Regions from separate parts of the Homo sapiens genome. Here all the other regions are linked to region 3. The links are contacts of gene promoters, found by promoter capture Hi-C in blood cells and fetal thymus (Javierre and others, 2016). All regions are on one chromosome and are shown on one strand. Each heading gives the region's core, a stretch centred on a gene start or on the middle of the fragment in contact. The rest is flanking DNA. Distances are from core to core; before and after follow the strand shown.

Evidence for each region. Contacts are between HindIII fragments. The CHiCAGO score rates a contact against its expected background, and 5 or more counts as called.
Region 1: a contact is called between a fragment that was not itself captured here and the fragment with the promoter of MDGA1 in region 3, in 1 of 17 cell types (megakaryocytes). The highest score is 5.6, in megakaryocytes.
Region 2: a fragment that was not itself captured here is called in contact with the fragment with the promoter of MDGA1 in region 3 in 1 of 17 cell types (monocytes); the score reaches 6.7 in monocytes.

What each region holds. Positions count from the first base shown.
Region 1 is chr6:38,568,909-38,573,754 of GRCh38, reverse strand. The region is part of intron 6 of BTBD9 (BTB domain containing 9); the gene reads left to right. Among named protein-coding and RNA genes, the nearest start is that of BTBD9, 69 kb to the left of the region's middle. The HindIII fragment of the contact is 4,387 bases long and covers 1-4,051 here.
Region 2 is chr6:38,476,368-38,481,398 of GRCh38, reverse strand. The region is part of intron 6 of BTBD9 (BTB domain containing 9); the gene reads left to right. Among named protein-coding and RNA genes, the nearest start is that of BTBD9-AS1, 2.7 kb to the left of the region's middle. RefSeq lists an enhancer at 3,490-4,013. The HindIII fragment of the contact is 2,733 bases long and covers 1,176-3,908 here.
Region 3 is chr6:37,696,522-37,701,396 of GRCh38, reverse strand. MDGA1 (MAM domain containing glycosylphosphatidylinositol anchor 1) reads left to right here and starts at 3,514. Exons shown (of 17, transcript NM_153487.4): 1 at 3,514-4,652. The coding sequence starts at 4,586. RefSeq lists silencers at 2,403-2,472, 2,493-2,562, 3,429-3,558, 3,579-3,648, 3,709-3,838 and 3 more and an enhancer at 4,161-4,875. The HindIII fragment of the contact is 24,309 bases long and covers 1-4,875 here.

The sequences.
Region 1 (4,846 bases), core at 609-3,108, 870 kb before region 3:
GCCATATAATATTGCTGAAAAATGAGAAAACTTTAGAACATGAGCGAAAATGGATAGAAGTAGAATTCAAAGTGTGCATGTGACTGGTGGCTGGAATTGCAAGTGGGATCTTGGTCTAAAACCTGGGAGTTGAGAGAGAAGAAAGCAGGGCTAAAAGCAACGTTCTCAAGGTTATGCCCGTTGAGAGAGGGAACAAGAGCGTAGGTGGGAGAGGTATTTACTTCAGGGGCTGGTCAGAGTTTAGAGGAGGATTAGGAGCGTTGTTTACTGGAGACAAGGCCAGACAGGGTGTTGAGATGGGTGTAAATTGACAATTTAGAGTCTGGCATAGGAGAGATGAACTTGGTTAATACAAAACGGTTTCTTTCTTTATTTCCTTTTTTAAAAAATTATCAAAATGGAAATATCTCTCATTATAAAGTTATAATGTATATATTTTAAATATTGATAAAACTTGCCATCTGGAAATGTTGTACTCAATTTCTACCAATTGCATGTAAAAATGCCCCTTTCTGTGAACCTTCACCAATGCAGACACTGTCACCGTTTTGCCAATGTAATACATAATTTGTTTAAAACAAAAATCCTATTTTACTTTGAATTTCTTTATTGGTGAGTTAAAGTATCTTTTAATACTGGCCATTTGTTAATTTCTTATTTATGAAAAGCCTGTTTTTGTCTTCTGCATATTTTTCTTCTGAGATAGTTTTCTTTTTGTCTTGTGAGAACTTTGTATCAATACATATATATATATGACATTATCCTTTTGCCTGTCATATATGAAATTTGTTAACGCATTTTTAGTGTTTTATTGGTACTTTTTGCCATATAGAATTTTACTTTTTAAAAAATGTATTCAAATCTGTCAGTCTTTTAAATGATTTCTGGCTTGGTATTATGATTAGAAGATTATTCCTCACTCTAATATTAAAGTATGTTAAACTTTTATGTATATATATATATTTTTTCCACTACTTGTTTTTTTTTTTTAAGCCTTATATCTTAAGTATTTAATACAGTCAGGATATTTTGCATAGATCTTTTCAGGTAGGGATAGTCAGTTGATTAAAGTCATTTATTTGATAATCATTTCTTGCTATCCTAATGTGATCAGCCATATTTATGATGAGCTGGATTCTAGCATATACCCTACTCAGTTCCACTGATTTCTTTGATTCTTGCTGAAAGTATTTTAATTATTGTAGTTCACTTCCCTCCTTTTTCTTCTTTTCTTAGAATGAGAAATTGTGTGTGCCATATGTGTCATAGAAAAAAGAAAGGGTATCATAGAGCATCTGCTAGGCTGTCTTCTGGTTGTTGTAGTCACATTAGAGGCCGTAAGTGATGATAAACATCTCACTAGAATGGTTCTACTTTCACTTACAACAGGAAATTTAGGCATGCTTCACCAGCTAAGGAAATAGATTTTATGTATTCATTCGTCACTCACCCATTCAACAAATAAGCGCCTACTTTATGCTATTGTTGTACTTGATATTGAGGCCACAACACTGAAGAAGATTGCCAAGGTTTCTGTGCTTTTGGAATTTGGGAGAAACAGATTAAAACAAACAAATAATAAGCACATCACATAATTATAAGTGTTGCAAAGATGGTACTGTGATAGTAACAGAAGTCAGGGGAGAAGGATTATTTTAAATAGGATGGTTAGAAAAGGCCAGAGATGGGGGGTAGGTGTTTTAAGCTGAGATGAAGGGGGTGATATTTTCTGGTCATTGTTTTATTTGTTTTTGGTTTTGTGTGTGTGTGTGTGTGTGTGATTGTTTCTTTGTTTTTTAGATGGGCTTGCTCTGTCACCCAGGCTGGAGTGCAGTAGTGCAATCTTGGCTCACTGCAACCTCTGCCTGCTGGGCTCAAATGATTCTTCTACCTCACCCTCCTGAGTAGCTGGGACTACAGGCATGTGTCACCACACTCAGCTAGTTTTTTCTATTTTTAGTAGAGATGGGGCCTTGCCATGTTGCCCAGGCTGGTCTTCAACTCCTGGACTCAAGCGATCTGACTGCTTCAGCCTCACAAAGTGCTGGGATTACAGGTGTGAGACACCATGCCTGGCCCATTGTTTTAGATATTTACACAACATCTAAATATTTTCTTTGGTGTACATTGAATGTTATTTGGCAGTAGCTGGTCTACTGTGGGAGACCTCATTAGAGGAATACTCTAACTTTACTGTGTTTTGGTATATGGCATTTTAATCTCATTTATTGCTACTATACATTCTAGGCCCCCCTCATTCCTGGTGTCAATAGATACAGCATAATTTTTTTTCACCTATTCTCATTAGATTATAGTACTTACATAGTGCTATAGATCTACATAAAATAAATGAGAAAATAAGCATTGCTATTTATGGAAGCATTCTTTCCCTGCTATATTAACACTTGTATAACATATGTCTTCTTTCATTTCTCTTTTGTTCCCTACACCTCTGCCCATAACTGGGCATTGATGTATCTATTTACTTTTAAAGGTAGACACTCTTACATTATTCAGTGTTCACTAGATTGCTTTAGAATCCTAGCTAGAATAATACTGAGCCTTTACTTTCTTCTTATGACTGAAGAGCTTCACAATTCAAGAAATGCCTTATTCAGATGTAAAAGAAACAGGATTAGTTTCATTTTTTAAAAAGTTATCTTTTTAGTTCATACTTAGTTTGAGTTGTCCATCTACCTACAACCTTGATATTACAATTGAACTAGCAAGAGCAACCCTCATAGAGGAACATTTTCTTCTAAGAATGCAAAGCAAAGTGTAGCCACATGGTGTCACTAAATTATAACAATTTTACTCGAAGCTAAAGAGAATTTAAAAATTGCTTTTTTACACCATCATATTTAAATATAAATTGTTCTGAAAGTCTGTGATTTGTGAAATAACATGTGAAACTATTTGTACTATTTAAGTCTTTCTGCTGATGTGGAGCGTTAATTATGTCCAAAGTCCAGAGGTATATATTTTGGTGCTTGCTAGCTAGTTCTTGAGTTGTCATCTGCAAGGCATAGGAGAAATGTGGGCTTCTGTAGTCCAGCTATTCAGTTTCATGCAAATATATATATTTTTTAACCTTCCTTTGGAATTTTGAAAGAGAGGAGTAACTCAAAGGAGATAGGAGATAGATTCTCTAAATATGTAAAAGGAATCAGAAAACAGAAGAAAAGAGGAATGAGGATAAAGAGAAATGAGGTTACAGGACCTCAGAAGTGGTAGGAAGGGAACAGTCTAACATTTATTGAGTATCTTCTGTGGGTCAGGCACATCTCATTACCTTGTGTAATTCTTACAATAGTCCTGTAGGAGAAAAACCGCTACTTAATTTTATAGGTGAGGAAATTGAGCCTTAGAAAAGCTAAATTTGTAACCAGGTCTGCCTGACTCCACATTACATTGCTGATGCAAGAATCAAGGTAAAGAAATAGCTCTACCTTAGAGTAGGAGAAGGAGGCATTGAGCCCTGAAGAAGCTCTTACTACCTCTTTGGAAGGAGCAGTTTCCAGCAATCCTGTAGGGGAGGACCTGCTGTGGCCAAATTCTACTAGTGCTGGTCACAGCCACCCAGACTACACACACATTATACTAATAATGATGATGAACAACCGGGGATATTTTCTGTTTTAAAATGCTCCAAAGGGAGTGCAGCAATCCTTTATCTAGGTATGTTTTGTCAGTTTGTTTGTAGAGCTTCGAATTTTCCTGCCCCTTAGTTCTCCATAAGATCATTTTAGAGTATTATTATAGAGTGAACCTAATATTCTTGAATCCTAGCTTGTTTTCATTAAACTGTGTTTAGAAACAAATTCCATATATTAGGAAATTTTTATTTACAAGATCTCTTCACACCTTGAGTTGCTTTTTTTTTTTAGTTGGGAAATTTTCTGTTTATTATTTTCATCTAGAACCCTTTTATTAGGGGGAAAACACAACAACAATAGCAAAAAAATCCCCCAAAACCCCGCCATGTTTTATATTCAGTAAGACCTTTGAGAAATGACTGTTTGTCCTTAAGTTATTCAATTGAATCCAAGCTTCTTTGTTTTGTTTTGTTTAGAGGATAATAACATGTTGAGCTTCTTTTGTGTGAGAAAACAGAACAGGATTGCCCTTTTCCTTTGCATTGTATTTTATAATTTTAGAATATAAATTAGTGTCCTAATAAGCTTATTGCATGAGATGATGTTACTAACATTAATCACCTGTTGTTATTACCACAAATAGCCATTGCCTGTTTTTCATTCTGAAAGGGCAAAAACTATATTTGCCTCTGCTAACAGTTGCTTCCCAAGCAGTTAGGCCCAGGATTAAGTTCAGGTAGCACCTTCTATGTTGATCATCAAACATCTTTTTTCTCATATTTTTCTTCTGAATACTACTTTATTACTTATGGGATTTATTCATTCAGACATTCACGCAAGAAACATTTATTGAACACGTGCTATATTGTAGGCACCTCATTTAGGTGCCAGACATAAAAAGATGAACAAGACACAGTGGCCGCTGTCAAGAATTTCATGATATAGTTTTTGCCCTTCCAGGCAAAATAATGTGTATTCAGGACACTTACCTAAGGTAGACTCTACATTGGACTTGGCCAAATCTAAACCCTTCTCTCAAAGCTCTCCATCATTAGGTTCTTCTGCTTCTATAGCATCATTCTTGGTTCTTACAAAGAATACCTTTTTTTGTCTCACTAATCAAAATTGTCTGTTTACCATCTACCCACCCGTAATTCCTACCTATGTCCCTAAGCTCAGAGAACATACATAAATGACAATCTTCTCTTTCTGTGTTACCTTGTATAACTGTGTAAGGTATCTAGGAGTTA
Region 2 (5,031 bases), core at 1,293-3,792, 780 kb before region 3:
ACAACCTAACATCTCACCAAGTATCAACTGGGAATACAATTTTGCACTCACTGTGCTGTGCCATCTTGCCAAGTTTTGTCTTTGTTACTCAGCTCTCATTCAGAAAGGAATTAATTTGAATTATATGATGCTATGGTTGTCTCCTTGAAGAAGGGCTAGATTCCTGCACACCTTGGGAAAGTATCTATCTGTGAATGTACTTGAATCTTCCAGGTTATATGCCATTCTTCTCTCTTCTTTCCCTTTCACATCATCATGGGCTCCTCTCACGTTAGAATAAACCTTTCTGTTTTGCCTCTCCCTACTCAATGGGATTTCCATTGTTTCTGTCTTCACTTCCTTTTACCTGGGAGAAGCTGATACTGATGGAAAGGCATTTTTGAGTCTAGATATAAAGCTCTTTGTTTAAAGAGCATTTTTAAAAGAAGGGAATTTTTACATTGCCAAAGGTACCCAGGTGTTGCCTTCCTTCCCCATGAGGATTTTGCACAGAGCGCACATTCATACCCACTATCTCTTAGTGTCAGCCTGTGTGATGGCTATATGCTGTCTACCAACACTACAGTCTGTTTGGGAAGCGCCAAATCTTGGGTAGGCACTGGATCTAAAACTGGCACTGGAATCATCCACTCAGAGGAAGAAAGATTGAGGTCAGGTGGGGAATAAGACAGGCAAGTTGTCAGGCTTCTTTTCAGATGGTTCTCAGAGTACACTTCCATTACTTAGAACAGTGGGTTTGGTGGGGGGTTTTGGCGTGTTCTATAGCTGAGCTACAAGCAAAATTAGAGCTTTTTACTTATATACTACTTTGCATGGAGGTAGTCTCAGGGTCCCAGTTACAGCACTGATTTCTTGAAAAGAGTTTGATGTTCTGGCCCATGCTTAATTTAAATGAGAGGCTAAAAGCAGATTGTGTAACCCACCAATGCCCATTTGACAGGACTTGCACCAATCTGACCTACACTTTCATAAGAGCTCCTAAGCAGAGTGCTGTACTGTGGGTCTTCTGCCTTAACTCCAGGAATGGCAGAGATGAGCTACTGTTTATTGAGCACCGACAAAGGAGAGGTACTCTGAGTGTTGAATGCATGCTGTCTCTCAGCCCACAAGAGCCCTGCAAAGGAAGTGCATTGCTCCCCGTATTTATGGATGAGGAAGCTGAGTATCAAGAAGCTTGCTCAGAATCATGCAGCTAGCAAGGAGCAAGGCAGGGTTTCAGAGCTACGTTTATCTGTTTCCAAAGAGTACACTCTCCCCTCAATTCCCAGTAGTACTTCTCCAGTAAATCTTAAGTATTGTATTGCTTTTTTCCCTTCTATTTCTCTTAGCAGTCTATAGAAAAGAGCGTTTATTTAAAGATTTTAGTGCTCATCTGGGCATAGTGACTCATGCCTGTAATCTCCACACCTTGGGAGGCCGAGGCAGGAGGATCGCTTGAGCCCAGGAGTTCCAGACCAGCCTGGGCAACATGACGGAACCCTTTCTCTACCAAAAATACAAAAGTTAGCTGGGCATGGTGGTGCACACCTGTAGTCCCAGCTACTCAGGAGGCTGAGGCAGCGGGATTGCTTGAGCCCGAGAGGTGGAGGTTGCAGTGAGCCGAGATCACGCCACTGCACTCTAGCCTGGGCGACAGAGCCAGATCCTGTCTTTTAAAAATAAAAATAAAAATAAAAAAAGATTTTAGTGCCCCCTATAACTTGAGGCTTGGATTCTGAAGTGAAAGTTGTTGTTCTGAGAGGTGTTGATTGAGCAGTAGTAATACCAACTACATCAGTGGGACTTGGTGGCCCAGTCACACGGATGCAGTCAGAAAGGGAGTGTTACCTCATAAAGCAGTGATTCAAGCCTGGGCTTGGATTTTAAAATGTTGGAAAGTTGTGAAGAAATGGGATTTTTTTTTTCTTCCAAAGATTGTAATAACTTTGCCATTGTACCATTAACATAGTCACCACCTCATGTTTGTCATGTAACCAATTTATGTTTTTACTAACATTGAGGAAATGATTTTTTTTATGCTTCCTCCTTTCTATCTTTCAATTTTTTCCCATCTACACTGTGTGGATTATCAGATAAACAGGAAGGTCAGTGCTCGCTTAACCAGGGTTTGGCCAGTGCTCAGTGGGTGGGAAGCCGTCGGGAGAGGAGCTGGAGGGGTTGTGTGTCTGAACCCCTGTGCTCCACATTGGGCGCCTGTCAGGTTCCACTGACTTTTCATTGTATATTTGGAAACTCTTTCATAGCCAGAGCAAAGCCCAGGGAAATCTCTCCTCCTGTGGTGTTGGTCGCGTTCTTGTAGTTTCCATTTGATAACAGCATAGTTTACAGAGAACTTTTTGAGCTTTTGGAGAACTCCTGAGACTTATTTTGTCTTTGCCTGCAGCCAAAATAATTGAAGCATTGTCAGTCTATTTCAGCAGCACTTCTTCAGGTAGACTGTGATACTATTTGGGATGTTCAGATAGACCAAAGAGAACACAGATTGTAGCTCCTCCTGGAGCTATAATCCTGGTTTTATATATGATAAAAGTGAAATGGAATTTTAGCTCACAAGACATACCAAGGCGACTTGGTCATTATATAGTAGCAGCCTCGCTTATAATTTCCAGAGTTTCCTCTGAGTTTTAATCTGGCATTTGTTTCTTCCCTTCTCCAAGGAAAACAGGAGTTCTTAGCTCTTCCCTGTAGCTTCTGAAATAAATTCACACAGAATTTGAAGGCAAGTGAAGTAGGTCAGAATCCTTCCGGAAGCCAAGAACCCACTTATCTTCCCTCCTTTAGTTTTCTGTTTTGTCTGCCCATGCACATTTCCTCTTAGGTCCTCTAAGGAGAGTATGGGAAGAAAGGGAGTCAAATTCAATGATGCAGAAAGGGTCAGAGAAAGTGGTTGTAGATGACTGATGAGATTTGACACCATCCTCACTGCCGGCCATGTAATTCTCTAAAAAAAATAGGAGACAAGATAGAGATAGTCAAATCATACTAATAAACTATTTTTCAAGCATCCACATGCCCAGAGATGCTTAAAAGACCAGTAAATGGATGTGTCAGATGATATATATGAGTAAGCTAATATGATAGTCAAAATCAATAAAATAAAACCAAAATATTTTAAAGGTGGCAAAGCTCATGAGAGCCCAGTACTCAGAAATATATAACCTTCCTTTGCACATGTTTCTCCTCACATATATACGCACGTAATCAGAGACTGGTGGTAAAATTTTTAAACTTCTGACCCCCTCCCCCTTCCTGGTAGGAAGCAGTTGAGGGAAAAGAGAGGAAACAGCATGTATTGACCACATGCTGCTTCCTCTTAGGCACTCACACATGCTTTTTGTCTTACCTAATCCTGTATAACATCCCTGTGGCAGCAGGGGTATTCTCATTCTTACAGATGAAGAAATTGAAGCCCAGAGAGGTTGCACCGTTTTTAAAAAGTGATGGGGCCAGATTTCAAAAACGGGTTCACCTGACTCTAAAGACCTTGTGTGAATTGTCTTTCCACTAAACCATGCTGCCTCACCACAGAGCCACTGATGGCTTTACTTGATGTGTTCGTGGCATCGTTGCTCAGTTTGAGTTAAGTGAGTAATTCTTAAATGACTCGAGGATAAGAAGACCTCCTGTAGAGGCTTTACAAATTCAAATACCCCCAGTTCGTATTGCTTTCATCCTCGCTTTCTTAACTATAATCAGCATTGATTCTTTCCTATTCCCTGATAGCATTAAGTTATGATAACACTAGGGTGACAGAAAATAAAATCAGCAAATATAGATACTGCTCGTTAGCTCAGTAAAATGTGAGAATTGGCAATAAAGTAGGTCTTATCTAAAAGGTATGGATATAAATACAAAGCACAGGATTAGAAGCATTTCAGATAAAGATAACTCTGTTTGCTAAACAAGCTTTTTTAGGTATAAAGGAAAAGACAGTCTTGCTTCTGAGCATCTTATTGTAAGCATGATTCTGCCCCTGGCATGTCCTGTAGATGAGAGTTTGCTCTTACAAAATAAGCCCTGTCTATTCAATTGTATTTCGATGTTACAGCTAGCACATAGTAGGTACTAGGTAACACTTAGTTGAAGTGAATCGCTCTTAGTCTCTAATAAAATGTCTTTTAACTACTTCATTTTGCTTCTGTTCCTTGTACATCTGGATTACTTTACTCTCCTCTAATTTTGATTGTCATCCCCAGTAATTAGAGAAAGAAAGCGCAGATTAAGCTTTCTCATTTCATTTCCCCAACTTCTCCCTCAGTGGAATTCATGCCATTTCAGGAGCTCTTCCCTTTTAGGATAGACATCTGTCTTTGTGATGCATCCCCTGGTCCTCAGCCCTTATTAATCTTCAGAACCCCACCCATCCCAGGTGTCACCTCTCTGAAGCCTGAATGTCACTGGCAGGGCCCCATGTAGTGTTGTTGCTGTCCTCACTCCCTGTGCATATTTTAAAAATCAGTTAACAAAAGTTTCTATTTAAAAGCTCCAAGGGAAAATTAGGTATAGTAATAACATTTTCCTATGATTATTTGCCATATTGGCATTGAGGCAGAGAAATCTGTTAGAAAAACTGTTTGCTCTTTTCCCATGTGTCTATACTGAATAATATAAAGCTGGATACGCTGTCTCTATTCTGAAGCTGTCATGTGTTATAATAACTGGTTTGACACTTATTATCTTTTTTAATGCAAAGAGGAAATTGTCAGAGTTCACAACAGTAAAATAGATCCTTTGTTATTTGTATTATTTTTACTTGAAAGTATTTTTTACTGTCTTTGCCTTGATAAAACTGAAGTTTATATGGTAAAAGACGACGACATGACATGAAATGCCAGAATTTGGACAGTATCAGAGCAAAGCAGGATTCAAATGAATCATTAATTGGTATTTTTTAGAACCAATGTTTATAAGCAAAGCTGTCAACTCAAATCACAGCCTAACCTCATAGGATCTTAGAGCTTTATCAGAATAATTATTCATCAGTGACTTTAATATGTCTTCCTGGAGTTGTGAAATGTGTACTTTTCAGGC
Region 3 (4,875 bases), core at 2,265-4,764:
GTGGCAGGAGGAGATGGGAGAGCTTTCTAGTAACATGCTCTCACAACAAACCGCAGTTGCCCTGCTTGCTCAATGCCTGGAGCCCCTGGTTCCCTGGCCCCTGGCTTGTGGTCAGCAACGAGTTCCTGAAACCTCCTGGGGCCCAAGTGCTAGGTTTTCTTTGAGGCAAATATATATATATATATATATATATATATATATATATATACACACACACATATATATATATATATTTTTTTTTCTAGTGGGAAGTGACCTAGAATGATCTTGAGTGGAACCGAAGACTTGGCAGCTGGGTGCTGACCACCAAGCCTCCAGATAGCCTGACCTCAGGCTCATCCTGTGCCCTATGGCCCATGTCAGGTCTAGCAGTCTAGCTCTCATGTCCCCCCTGCCCTTGGTGCAATTTGGGGGCCAGAGTATTGTTCTCTGTGTCTGTAAAGGGAACAGGAAACAGTTCTTGTGGAAACATTATTTGATACCTAGGCCCTTGCCCCTCTTCAGTATAGAACAGTGGGAGAGGGCAAGGTCGCCGAGCCAAGCTACTGAGGTCAAAGCTCAGTTTGGCCCCTTAGCAGCTGAGTGAGTCACTACATCTTCCTATGTCATTCCATGAGAATAACAGCCCTGTCTTACATAATGGTTATGAAGATTAAATAGTTAATACAGTGCCTGGCATGTGGTGTCAGCTGTTATTCTTATTACTCCACTTCTCTCTAGGAAGACAGGGATCTTACCTAGTTTACATCTGGGGAAACTGAGGCCTAGAGAGGTTAGGACTGGGACGCAGGACTGATGTCTAGGGCTCTTTCCCTTCTCTGAGGTTGCCTCCCATTGTCAGACACTGGGCTGTGTTGAGGCAGCAGGCAGGGCACACTTGGGGGAGGAGACAGCTGAATTTACAGACACACACAAACAGGCTGTCAAGGTATTTACACTGCATACAATTAGCTGCAGAGTATTCACAAGTGGATTAGCTACAGCAAATGTTCAATCCCAGCCTGGCTAACTTGGTCCTCTGTTCCCCCCACCCCGCCATCATGAACCTTCTTTCTCCTCCAGGCTAGTGTGTGAGTTTAGAGAGGGCAAAGTCAAGAGAATGTCAGCTGAGTCAGTGCAGTTCTCTGTCCCCAGTAACTCACCCCAAAGCCAAAGAGGAGCAATTGACTGCTGTTTGGTGTTGGAACAGCTAATTGGAAAATCAGAGCGCAGTTTCGCACGACATGGAGAAGTACACATTCAGCTCAGAATGGGCAAAGCCAGGAAGAGCCACAGTCGCTGTGATCACTCCCTGAGAGCTTCCTGGAAGGGGTAGAGACTTCCAGGAACCCTCTAATAATGGGAAGAGGATGACAATAGAAGAAGCTATCCCTCATCACTCCCTCAATTGGCACCACTTCCTTTTCTGACTGGATGGGGGAGGCGGGAAGAGGCATGGTGGCTGTGTATCTCTGTGGGACAGAAAATGAATTTTTTGCCTTTGAGGTAACAGTCCGGGGCTGGGGAGTGAAAGGATGGCTACCCTGAGGGTATCCCAGGTCTGTGATATCTGGCCATGATGGGCATCATTCGTGAATTCACTGAACATGTCTGCAGCTGGCATCTGCTGGGAGCACCGCACTGAGTCTGGACTTCCTATCAGCCTTGGACCCACGGGGTAGAAAGGAGAGAAAAGACGGAAGAGGGCACAAGGGAGGCGCAAACGAGTGGAGGTGGGCTAGAGAATAGGAATCTTCGGATGTTCTCGGGCTTCCTGAGATGGACAGAAAGGGGGCTGAGAAAGGAAGGTGGAACCCCCCCATGCCACCAGGCACTTCCCGACACCTCCCGCTCCTCTTCCAGCAGTCAGGAGCGCGCGCTCCGGTGGGGCTTAAGCCCTGGAGAGTCAAGGGAGGAGAGACCCAGCAGGAAATGGGCCTGGGGAAGGGACGGTTCATTATTATTATTTTAAAAAAATTTATGTTTCAATTTATATGCAGACTAACCTTTTTGGAGTGTGGAGATCTTTGAGTTTTGACAAATGCATAGAGCCGTGGAACCACCATCAAGATATTGAGCAGTTCCAGGGGGCGAAGGGAGGGGGGGTTCGTAGTCTCCCCGCTTGTTAGCTGCTGCGATTGTCTGCGCTCCCACGGGCCGACCTAAAACAATTCTTGCGCACACGCTGAGATAAATAACGGCGACAGGTGGAGCAGGTGAGATTAGCAGGACCCGGGTTGGGCGCGGGGCGGGATCGGAGGCGCGGGGGAGGCCACCAGCCTCGCTTGCCAGCCTACGCCCCTCCCCGCGGGCGTTTGGGAGGAGCGTTCTCCGCACTCCTGCTCCGCGAGGGCCCCTTCGAGGCGGCTGAGACCCGAGTGCCGGACTCCCGCCGCTGGAGCGGGGCTCGGGTTCGGCAGCCGGAAGGAGGTGTGCCCCCGGGGCGCTTGGGGGCGCCTGAGGTCCCGAGGGGAGGCAAGATGGGAAGAGTGGCTAGCCGAGGAAAATGTGGGGTGACTTAGGGAAGCTCTGGCGGAGGGGTCGTGCGAGCAAACCTGTTGGCAACCTGTGGGCCGCGGCAAGGGCAGGAGCTCTCAGCGCGACCTCTCCGCCAGCTGCTCCGGCCCGGCCCCAGCACCAGACGCCTGGAAAGGGGCGGGGGCCTCTCGAGCCGGGCAGACAGCCTTGCAGACCCACAGCCGCGGCCCGTCTCGCGCGGCTGCAGGACCCCAGGAACCGCAGGCGCCCGGCCTTTCCCTAGGACCCCCGCTTCAGTCCCGCCTCCCCAAAGTGCAAAACATTTACGAAGTGTGCAGTGCCCTGCGGGCATGGGTCTCCGAAGCGAGCGGCCGTGTTTGCCCCGCGGGCTGCTGGCAACGGTGCACCCGGCTCGGCCAGCTAGTCTGGGTGTGCAAGGCTGGAGAACAGCGAGTGTGCGAGCGCGCGGCTGCAGAGCCCCCGCCGAAACCCAGGTCCCTCCGCCACTGTCCTCGGGATAGATGGATCCATTTCTGCTTTCTGACATTTTCCTGCTGGGCGGGGTTGGGGGGGAATGTTAGGGGGCGGAGAGAGGAAGAGAGAGAGAGGGAGAGGAGAAAGGGAAAGAGAGGAGAGGAGAGGAAGGGAGAGAGAGCGAGAGGGAGAGAGAGAGGAGAGAGAGAAGAGAGAGAGAGGAGAGAGAGAGAAAGAGAGAGAGAGAGAGAGAGAGAGAGAGAGAGAGAGAGAGAGAGAGAGAGAAAGAGAAAGAGAAAGAGAAAGAGAAAGGCAGGCAGTCAGCTTCCCCCAGCCCTGTTTTGTTTTCTCTAATTGGTCCTGGGGGAGGCGAGGAAATTGGACAGAGGCTGGGCCAGGCGAGCTGGGCTGCCTTTAATTGGCTCCTTTTTTTAACTGGAGGGGAATCAAACAGGAGAGCGAGCGACAACGGGTGGGAGAGCGAGAGACCGAACGAGGAGACGCGAGGAGGAGGGAGGAGGAAGAGAGGGAGGGAGGCGGGAGGAGCGCGGAATGAAAAGCTCGGAGGGGCGAAAAAGCAGCACAGCAAAGCCCAAGTTGCTGAGCGAGCGGAGCGCTCCCGCGGCCCGGAGCCGAGCGGCCGCCGCGCCCCGGAGCCCGGCCCGGCCCCGCCCGCTCTGGGCCCCCGCAGGCCAAGGCCGCCGGGCGGGGGCGGGGACGACCAACTTGGGGCGCGGCGTAGCCCCGCTCTCCCGAGAGCTCGGAGCCCGGGAGGGCTACGGCCGCGGCCAGACGGCGGGAGAGGAGCGCGGCGAGCGGAGGCGGCGAGCGGCGCCCGCGCCGCAGCCCCGGCCTGGGCGAGAGCGCGAATATTTTTCAAAAGACTCAAACTTTCCTCCTTTCCCCGTTTTCTGGGGCCCTTCTTGCCTGGAATTGCTCTCCAGATTCCCGCGGGGCGCCGGGCTGCTATTCTTCCCCCGGGTTTATCGGCGGCTCGGCTAACTTCACGGACCCGGGGACCCGCGGCGCTCGTCCCTCGGCCGAACCCAGCCCGCGCTGCTCCCCGGATCAGGAGGGCCGGGCCCGGGGCTGCTTCGCCGCCGCGAGTGCTTTCAGCCCGGCCCCCTGGAGTCGGGCCGCTGAGCCCACGGCAGCGGCCGCAGGACTGGAAACAGCAGATTGATTAACTCGAGCGGAGCCCCGGCCTCCCCGACTCCGCTCCGCTGAGGGGCGGCCCCAGTGCGGGGAAACGACAAGTTTGTCAGTCGTCCGTGGCCTGTTGGATCGAAGCGCCGCCTCCGCCGCCGAGAGGTCCCCGGCGCCTAGCATCCCGCGCGGACGGCCCTGGGTACCCGGGGCGGCTCGGCGGCCGGGCTCCTCGGGTCGGGGCGCTGGCTGCTGTGCCGGGCGCGCCGAGGCACCCGGGGCTGGGCCAGCGCCCCCTGCGTCCCCACGCGGGCAGCGGCCCCGCCGGAGGAGAAACACGGGTCGCCGCCACCTCCGCCTCTTCAGTCTCCTGGTCTTCGTCGCCGCTCTCTCTCTCACCTCTCAGGGAAAGGGGGGGACATAGGGGCGTCGCGGGGCCCCGGCGAATGCGCCCCCCGCCGCCTCTCGGGCTGCGCCGCCTCGCGGGGATGAAGCACCGGCCGTGAAGATGGAGGTGACCTGCCTTCTACTTCTGGCGCTGATCCCCTTCCACTGCCGGGGACAAGGAGTCTACGGTAAGAGCCCGCGTCCCGCTCCACCTTGGCTTAACCTCGCGCGGAAACTTTGCAAGAGGCGCAAAGTGCGCGCTGCCGGGGTTTGGTGGAGACCTCGACTCGGACTCTGGAGTGGATGCCCGCGTCCCCGCCCTCTCCAGGGCGCGTGGAGACCGAGCTAGCTGCTTCGGAACACAGGGGCCGGTCGTAGGGTCTGGTGGGAAGCCGGGATGTCAGGAGGAGG